Regions from separate parts of the Homo sapiens genome. Here region 1 is linked to region 2. Evidence: promoter capture Hi-C in 16 types of primary human blood cells and fetal thymus (Javierre and others, 2016). All regions are on one chromosome and are shown on one strand. The core of a region is centred on a gene start or on the middle of the fragment in contact, and the rest is flanking DNA. Distances in the headings are between cores, read along the strand shown.

Region 1 (4,709 bases), core at 1,812-4,311, 1.8 Mb after region 2:
AAGATCAAGGAAGCTATAAGCAAATTGATCAACCCCGGAAGGCATCCTGAAAAACACACACTTTACAAAAATACTTAAATAAGAAAGTGTAAGATAACATACATGGTAGAATTTTGGAGAAAGACAGTTAAAATGAGGAACTGAATGGAGCAGAAAGTATATTGCAAGCATTTAATAATTAATAGCCTTTAGTATTATTTTCTTAATAAAGTAAAAAGCTTCAGAAGACATGACATAAATGTTAATTATATAGAAATCAGATTACAAGAATTTCATGACAACTTACATTTATACATCATCTTGTAAAACTGCACCCTTCAATGAATCCAAAAGCTAACAGCTGGCATGCTACTACTTCTGTGATGTAGAATACATTTCTAAACTTTCAACTTTTGTTTTATCATTATTCAATACTAGGCCAATGAAATATATTATCAAACTGGAATATTCTTTAATCCAGCCAACTATTTCCCAATACCAGAAAGATAATATAGCTTGTAGAGACTGTCTACAATATCTAAGTAGCTAGCTTGCTCTGTAAATGGAAATTCAAGTATCAAGTACAAGGTTGAAAGAGACATCCTCCAAGGTCTCTTCAGAATTCTCTTCTATAGAAGCTTTGGGGGAAAAAATATCTTTCACTGAAAAAAACATCAAAAGTGTTTTAGTGTCATCTGTAAGAGGCTGAATAAGAGGGCAAGGAGGGAAATCAAGAAAAAGACTAAAGAAGGTGACTGAAAAGCATGATGTATCTCAGACCTGCATGTTTCAAGCTGTGCCAAATAGTGTTCAAACGCCTTTGAAAACTAAATCCTATAATAGTCAATCATTCTTCACCATCCATTTTCTTTTTATCAGCATGTCGACATTAATGGTTCTCTCACAGTCTTATAGAGAACAATGTTTATTTCATCTTTGCAAAGAAAAAATTTGTTATTTGTTACCACAAGTAACAAATATAAAGAAGAAAATAATTAGTATGGTGTATGATGATAGGACAAAGAGCAATGGTATGGATAAAAATGATAGTAGGTCAAAATTTATATAAGTGTTTCAGCCATTGATTGGTAAAGTGCTTGACATGTTAACAACAAGCAGTGGGGCAGAATCACATTCATGAAGAATTTCCTAAAATAATGTGAAAATACAGTCTTAGCAAAAATGCCACCTCTCTCACCCAAACTTTCCCCAAGGGGCCATAAAGAGGTAATTATTTCCCCTCTGAGATATTCTGTAGACTACACAAATGTGGAATAATGCCCTTACTGCATTGCAAAGATAGTTAACATCTCTATTTCCTCAACTAAACTAGGGGTCCCTAAAAGGTGAGATAGTATTTTAGGTATCTTTAAATCCCTAGTCCCCAGCGCAGTACCTGAATTATATTAGGTACATGATAGTATTGGCCAAATGAATATTTTACTGAATGAATAGTTACTATACAGTAAGCAATATTTATTCATTCATTCCTTCAAGAAACACTTACTGGGCCCCTACTCTATGCCAAGCACTGGTCCTGGTACTGGGGATGCAGCAACAAGCAAAGCAGGTAAGTCCCTGCCTCCATAAAGCCTGCATTCTGCTCAAGGGGACAGATGGTTGACAAATAATGAAAGTGTTAAGAAAACATACAACAGTGCAAGGGGCTCAGGAGTGAAGGAGTGTTTTATCTATGATAGTCAATAAGGGCTTTCTGAAGTAGAGTTCTGAACATGAGCGCACAAACCGTACAACTGTTTCAGAGCTGAAAATTCCTAGCTGTGGGAACAGAAAGTGCAAATGCCCAGGAGCAGGAGGTACATGGTATATCCATGGAAAAGCAAGACGGCCAGGATGGTTGGCCTAGAGTTGGCAAGAAGAACAACAATAGAAAATTAGGGGTTGGGCATGGTGGCTCGTGCCTTTAATCCCAGCACTTTGGGAGGCCAAGGTGGGAGGATCACTTGAGGCCAGGAGTTTGAGACCAGCCTGGTCAACATGACGAAACTCCATCTCTACTTAAATTACAAAAAATTAGCTGGGTGTCTTGGCGCATGCTTGTAATTCCAACTATTCAGGAGGCTGAGGCAGAGAATCGCTTGAACCTGGGAGTCAGAGGCTGCAGTGAGCCAAGATCGTGCCACTGCACTCCAGCCTGGGAGACAGAGTAAGACTACATTTCAAAACAAAAAAAAAAAGAAAAAGAGAAGAAAGGAAAGAAAGAAAGAAAATTAGGGTGAGAGGAATTCAGAAACCAGATCAGAGGGGATCTATTGTCTATAAATAAACCATTGATTAGCCAGACATGGTGGGACATGCCTGTAATCCCAGATACTCGGGAGGCTGAGGCATAAGAATCACTTGAACCCAGGAGGTGGTGGCTGCAGTGAACCAACATCATGCCACTGCACTCTAGCCTGGGCAACAGAGTGAGACTGTCTCAAAAAAAAAACAAAAGAAACCATTGAAGGGTCTTGAAGAAAGATGTGACATTATCTGATTCTGTAAAAGACCACAAGGAGGTAAGAATGGAAGCAAGGAGGCTACAGCATTAGCCCCAGCAAAAGAGGAGATGTAGTGGTAGGAAATGAACAGTTTCCAATTTAAAAAAATATTTTTTAAATAGAGCTGACAAAATTTAATGATAGACTTGGTGTAAAGAACAGGAGAAAAGGAGAGGCAAAGACATAAAGGAAACATATAAAGGTTTTAAAATATAAAACAAATTATTTTATCAAGATGGTTATCTATCTGTTTAAGAAGAAACATTATAAGATGAACCACACAAAAAGAGTAAGATTTTGCACCTTCCAAACAAGTTCACAGGTCAGGAGGAGAAAGAACTGGAAACTGGGAGCTCCAGAGACCCAAGTTCGCCCACACTTTGTGGCTTTGAATCACAGCATCACTGTAACTTGATTGCCCATCCAAGACTAACACTGGCGAGGAAAGTTTCAGGATCTCATTCTCAGATAATAAACATAAAACTGTAACTTTTTTGTCACAACCATACAAAATCCATTAAACGATGAAATAATGAGGTTATAGTTCTAAATACTATCCTAATACTTGACCACAGTATGGACAAAGATATATAAGAAATAACAGCTTTTCATTTTTTGAGCAATGAATAATTAATACCACAACTTTAATATTTTTTAAAAAGGGATTTGGGGTACTTAATAGAAATACAAATTAACTAGAAACACAATGAGTCATGAGAGCTATAAAAAATGCTTTTCCAACAACTAAAGAAAAAATAGGCAAAGGATAATCTATCTGTTGGATAAACTATCCAACAGAACACCAATAGAAAATAAATATAACTGGGTAGATGGACAACAGTGTACAAAAGGAAATCACCACCAAAAACAAGAAAATAACAATTAGGAGAAAGAGGTTTAGGTCTACATAAGATGAATATTTATAGAAAGTATCTTTGGGAAAATTCTGCATGCACAGCTTCGAAATATTAAAAGTGGAAAAGGGAATGGGAATATATGATTCCCGCGAAAAAAATGCTCATATCAAATTATAATCTGTTTTACTAGATATAAATAGTTTCTTCCATAGAGGGAGGGAGGGAAGGAGGAAGGAAGAAGGGAAAAACCTGTAATCCTGAAGAGGAAGCATGAAACTATAATACAAAGGCAAAGAAATGACAGTTTTCATGATAAATACAGCAGGTGTCTTCATATAAAATACACAATGTGTCATACTTTTTAACAGCAGAGGGTAACACCGTTTCAAATTTAAATTTGTAATAACAGACAGTTAATTAGATTTTTTTCATTTGTGAGGCTAGTGCCAAGTACACTTTCAGAAAGCCCTAAGAGTTGAGAGTATACACACTATAAATAATTGTTTTTCAATAAATTTGGCCAACTTTAATAAACAGTGTCTACTACTTCACAATTAATGGTTCAATACTGACGACTAGTGGTCAAAACTTGTAGTAATTCCCTATCAAGTATTCTATGACCTTTATCAATTTATTTAAAACATTTAATGCAAATTATGTGAAAATCTAAATTAAAAGATATTGCCCTCACAAACATTCAGAAAAACACGAAGAAAAGGAATTGTATCTACAAAGTCTCTTTAAAAATTCTTTCTGTCCATTATTTGCAGTATCCCAAAAGAAAAGTCAATCAGCATTTGCTGTCAGCTCACAAAGGAAACAGTTCCATGAAATGTCACTTTATTCACGCTCACACAGCTATGTTAACATTCTTCATAAATCCATAATTAATATTTCAAAGAGGTCTACATTTAGAATGCATGTATCTGGGCATCTCCATTCTAAATTTCTTTTTCAAACTTTGTTAAACACAAAGATATCAAAAATCCAGCTGTCTTTATTAAGTTGTCAGTATAGTTTGAAAACCAGCAACCCACTATACGAAAATGTTATTTTTATAGAGTTGAATTATGTTTAATTTAACTATGATTGAATTCTTGAAGAATGTTTATGGAATTTTGAATATATCATTGTAACTACTATATAAACTTCAAATAAGTTAAAATTGTTTAACTTTTACTTTCTGTCTTCAGGAATGAGAGCAGTAGAGTAACACAAGGTATAAAAATCTTGGAGTGAAATTTACCAAGAATGTTATATGCAGCTGAACAATCACTTACATTTGGAAACGTCAATTTCTTTAGCACCTGTTCAGTGAGCTCTGTGTGATAAACCCTGTACTACCTGTCCCAGAAACAAGGGTAAACGA
Region 2 (4,378 bases), core at 1,776-4,275:
TCAGCTGGAATAAAAAAGTAATACTATGGTATAGCATAACGGAGATAATACAATTTTTGTGGTTTTAAAACAGAGAAAAAAGTCCCTCTTTTAATGCAAAATCACCTGTAACCTTGAATGTATCAACCAGTGTGACTTAGCTGATAATTTAGGCCTATTTCATAGAGCTGTTATGAGAACTAAGTAAAATCATGCACATACAAATGATTAGTTACTTTTAAAAACTGTAAAATGCTTGCTGTTATTGTTGCTGGATTGAAGAGTTCATTGTGATGGTGCCATTCAATGACTATATGACTAAGATGATCATCCTTTGTACTCTGTCTCCCCATCTCTCCTCCCTCCCTTGTTTTTCCATGTGGTATGTGTTTTCTCTCTCTCTCTCTCTTTTTTTTTTTTTTGAGACGGATAGTTTCATTCCTGTCGCCCAGGCTGGAGTGCAGTGGTGCAATCTCGGCTCACTGCAACCTCCCCCTCCCAGGGTTCAAGTGATTTTCCTGCCTCAGCTTCCTGAGTAGCTGGAATTACAGGTGCCCACCACCACGCCTGGCTAATTTTTGTATTTTTAGTACAGACAGTGTTTCACCATCTTGACCAGGCTGGTCTTGAACTTCTGACCTCAGGTGATCCACTCGCCTCCGCCTCCCAAAGTGCTTGGATTACAGGCATGAGCCACCGCGCCCGGCCCGTCTCTAAGTTATTTTCTAAGCTAAAAGTCATGCTACTGCAACCAACGGATATCCCCCCTTTTTTGGAGATACTTGGTAATGTAGAAACTATTTCAGAGAGTCAAAATTCTACAGATAGAGTTTAGAATGCACAAAATCTAGACATGGCATTGAGGCATCTAGATATTGCCTTTACCTATTTCCTGTAGGAACTTGCTCCAGATTAGTATCTTAAAGACAAATTGGCATTTATTTTTCTTACACACATTGCATTGTGCCATGTAAGAAAATTACAGATTAAATCAGCATTTTCCTCCTGCTTGATGTGAATAAAATCAATGCTGAAATGGGAGTCCTAGTTAATCTATGTGATAGAAGTTACTAGGACCAGTGTTTGGTGGCTTAGGTCCTTAAAGAAATTGGAAAGCTCTTTGCAATACAGTGTGTTAACAACAGCCTTTTCTTTTTATTCCCTTCCCTTTGCAACTGTTCCCAGCCCTTCTTTAAAAATCTAAGTCAGAAATATATTGAAGGGCTTTATTTCTATCCATTTTTTTCTATCTGCACATGGCTGTTGATATTCCTTCACTGTCTTGGAGCTATCAACTATCAGTCTTTTGTAAAGTAGCATACATAGTAAAGTATCAAGAAAACATTTTCTCAAGCCAGACTGCCTGTGCTCAAATTGCAGCTCTGCTACTTACTGGCTGAGTGACCTTGGACACGTTATTTAACCTCTCTGTGCCTAGTAACCACTACATAGGAGGGTATTTTATAAGGATTAAATCTCTGTAACACACGTAGAAAAGTACCTGCCATATGGTAGGCACAATATACATTTTTGTTAAATAAAATGAAGCTTAGTAGTTTACCTGCATTGTTCACATTATCTAACACATTACCTTCCACATCGTAGGTACACAATGAATATTATTAGTCATGACTTATACATGACTAAATGTATTCTTAAATTGGAGTGGTACAAAAAACATATGGGTCCATTCCACATTTCTACAAACTAGCTCTGCAGTCTTGCACATCAAATTTTAGTGTCTTTGGAGCTTCCTTCTCATCTTTAAAATAAAAATATTTGCCCAATGTATTTCAAAGGGTAATTTTAATGATCAAAATGATAATGTACTTCCAATGAGTTGAAAAAATTATTTCTCTATATGAAAGGTATTATAACATTTTTATTTCTCAAATTACTAAATCAGTTCTAGGGGAAATATGCTAGTAAAATAGTTAAGGCTTGACAGATATAACTGGTCCAGAGGTCGGTAGTCATCATGAGTACTAAGACCTAGATACTAGGGGTCTGTGTTTGTTCTTGAGAATACAGCAAAGTGTTTCAAGGAAGGAGGCTTCTCCTTTACTTACCAGGCCTGTTCAGCTGTATTTGGCTACTTCTTGTTATGGAAGGAAACCTGAGCAGACCTTGGGAATCCAGTGTTCCTTTATCACATTCCTCAGATCTGTTAGGCTGGACGCCAAGGACAGTAGTTTGAAGGTGTTTGTCTTGATGCTGATGGATGTTGCAGTCTGTAATCCACGAACTGAAACAGGGCTTCTCTTCATTGCAGCTGGCATATCTTGTTGTGTTTATGAGTCTGACAGGCAAACATATCTGAAGCATATCTCATATGCTGATCTGTGAGGGAGATAAGCCCCTTGTTTTGCTTGACTGGAAACAAAATAAGCAGGTGGCAGAAAACCCTGCATTGATTTCTGCTTGGGCTAAAACACCCAGAATAAGATCAAGTCCCCCTTGGGCACACTCCAGCCTCTGCTATTTGATCATTGATCATTTGACTTAAGTTTGCAAATTGTTGTAGGGAAGTGTAAGTTTCTTTCTGCTTTAACAAAGCTACTTTTACTTATTTTAATTTTATAAGCTATTAGCACTATTTTGTGATAGAAAAAACTAAAAATCAAATGGTGTCAGAGCTTAAAAATCTCTTACTTCATTTGCCGTGTAATCTTTATGCATTTGATTTTTGCTTCAGGATCCTTACCTATAAAGCATACCCATTTCATTTGACCACTAGATTTTTACAGAATAAAAATAGTTCCTTTCTGAAGAGGAACTATGAAAGTGTATACATGGGTTAGGAGATGGAGCTGAGGACTCCAAAGTAATCAGTCCCTGATAAGAACTTGAGTTTTGATGCACACATTATTGCATTTTAGAGATTTTGGTCTCCCAGTTAGATTGTAAACTTATTGAAGGCAGTAGGACATTGACAATGCATAAATATTAGTTAGGAAAATGAAAAATAAAGTGTTGCTTACCAATTCAGAGATTCAGAAGAATGTGGATAGGATTTTTTCCCTCTCACCTGAAATTTCGACTTTATAAACTCTTTTTATTACTGTCCTTCCTTTTCTGATCCCTTGATGATTATTAATTGGTTCCAGTGGTGTATATTTCAGATATTTAATTAAGTCTTCCTTTCTGTCCAACTCTCTGCCAAAACATATTTTTCATTTTTATACCTGCAATGCTCAAACATAAGTTGATGCCAAATGCATGCTGTTTGATTACATTCCATCCAGATTTACTTCCAAGCAGGACGAGGCCTGTAGCATTTATTTCAAGTAGCTTTACAAAGAGCCATTCTTGGCCCTCAATGTGTGTGGCAGGCGGGGAGGCAGGAGAGGAAAATGAGGTAGATGTCCTTCCCATACCTTAACTAGTTTTTGAGAGAAATGGAAAATGGCAGATCAGATGCCATTGGCCGTTTGCCCAATTAAGCCATAGCAGTGTTAGCTAAGATGTGATCAATATGGAAGACTTGGTCTGCAGAGCCTTTTTTAGCTGTGCTCCTGTACTAGTCAAGCACCTCCTGCAACTTTGTGGTAAATTCAAGCACCTCGTGCAACTTTGTGGTAAAAACCATCCTCATGAGTTAGAGCCTTGTCTTATAAGAAGGAAGAGGACAGCTTCTGGGTGAGACACGTGCTGGCCATCATGCTGTTGCCTAATCTGTCACCTCAACTATTGATTCCCAGCTCTTGATTCTCATTGTTCATTCATGGAGTTGTTTCTAAATAATGGTGACTAGAGAGGAGGAAATGGTGTTATATTAGTTCTCTATTGCTGCATAACAAATAACTCCAAAACGTAGCAGCTCAAAAATCAACAAGGCATTACCTCCTAATTTTTGCAGGTCAGGAATCCAGATGTGGCTTAGCTGGGTGCCTCTGGCTTAGAGTCCCTCCATAAGGCTGCAACCGAGGTGACAGCCAGGGCTTCAGTCACCTCAACTTGGGAGAGATCTGCTTCCAAGCCCTTACCTATGGCTGGTGGCAGGCCTTAGTCATTGTGGACTGTTGGCCACAGATAATACTTCATTGGCACAAGAGCCTTTCTACAGGACAGCTTACAACTTAATAGCTGTCTTTGATTGAGGGTTGGGGAGAAGGTGGAAGCCATTGTTGTTTTCAATCTAATCTTGAAAGTGACATCCTGTCACCTCTACTGTATTCTATTCATCACTTAGAAGTGAGTCAATAAGTATAGGACATTTAAGGGGAGGGAATAATCAAGGGTATGAATACCAGGAGGCTGAGACAGTTGGGAGCCACCTTATAGACTGCCTTACACAGGTGTAAAAAGCATGAAATAGACATTAGACAAATGCAGGGTCTGCTGAGATGGCGTGTAAAAAGTTCTATCACAGGGCTTGCCACAGAGTAGAGAAGCATTG

The links. The method cuts DNA at HindIII sites, captures the fragments that hold promoters and counts their contacts. A CHiCAGO score of 5 or more calls a contact.
Region 1: a contact is called between a fragment that was not itself captured here and the fragment with the promoter of NRXN3-AS1 in region 2, in 4 of 17 cell types (M0 macrophages, M1 macrophages, M2 macrophages and 1 more). The highest score is 10.9, in M0 macrophages.

The regions. Positions count from the first base shown.
Region 1 is chr14:80,846,499-80,851,207 of GRCh38, forward strand. All of the region lies in intron 9 of CEP128 (centrosomal protein 128), which reads right to left. Among named protein-coding and RNA genes, the nearest start is that of CEP128, 93 kb to the right of the region's middle. The HindIII fragment of the contact is 4,892 bases long and covers 616-4,709 here.
Region 2 is chr14:79,072,500-79,076,877 of GRCh38, forward strand. It overlaps NRXN3-AS1 (NRXN3 antisense RNA 1), which reads right to left and starts at 3,026. Exons shown (of 3, transcript XR_007064282.1): 1 at 2,961-3,026; 2 at 2,049-2,319; 3 at 1-4. All of the region lies in intron 15 of NRXN3 (neurexin 3), which reads left to right. The HindIII fragment of the contact is 3,991 bases long and covers 1,526-4,378 here.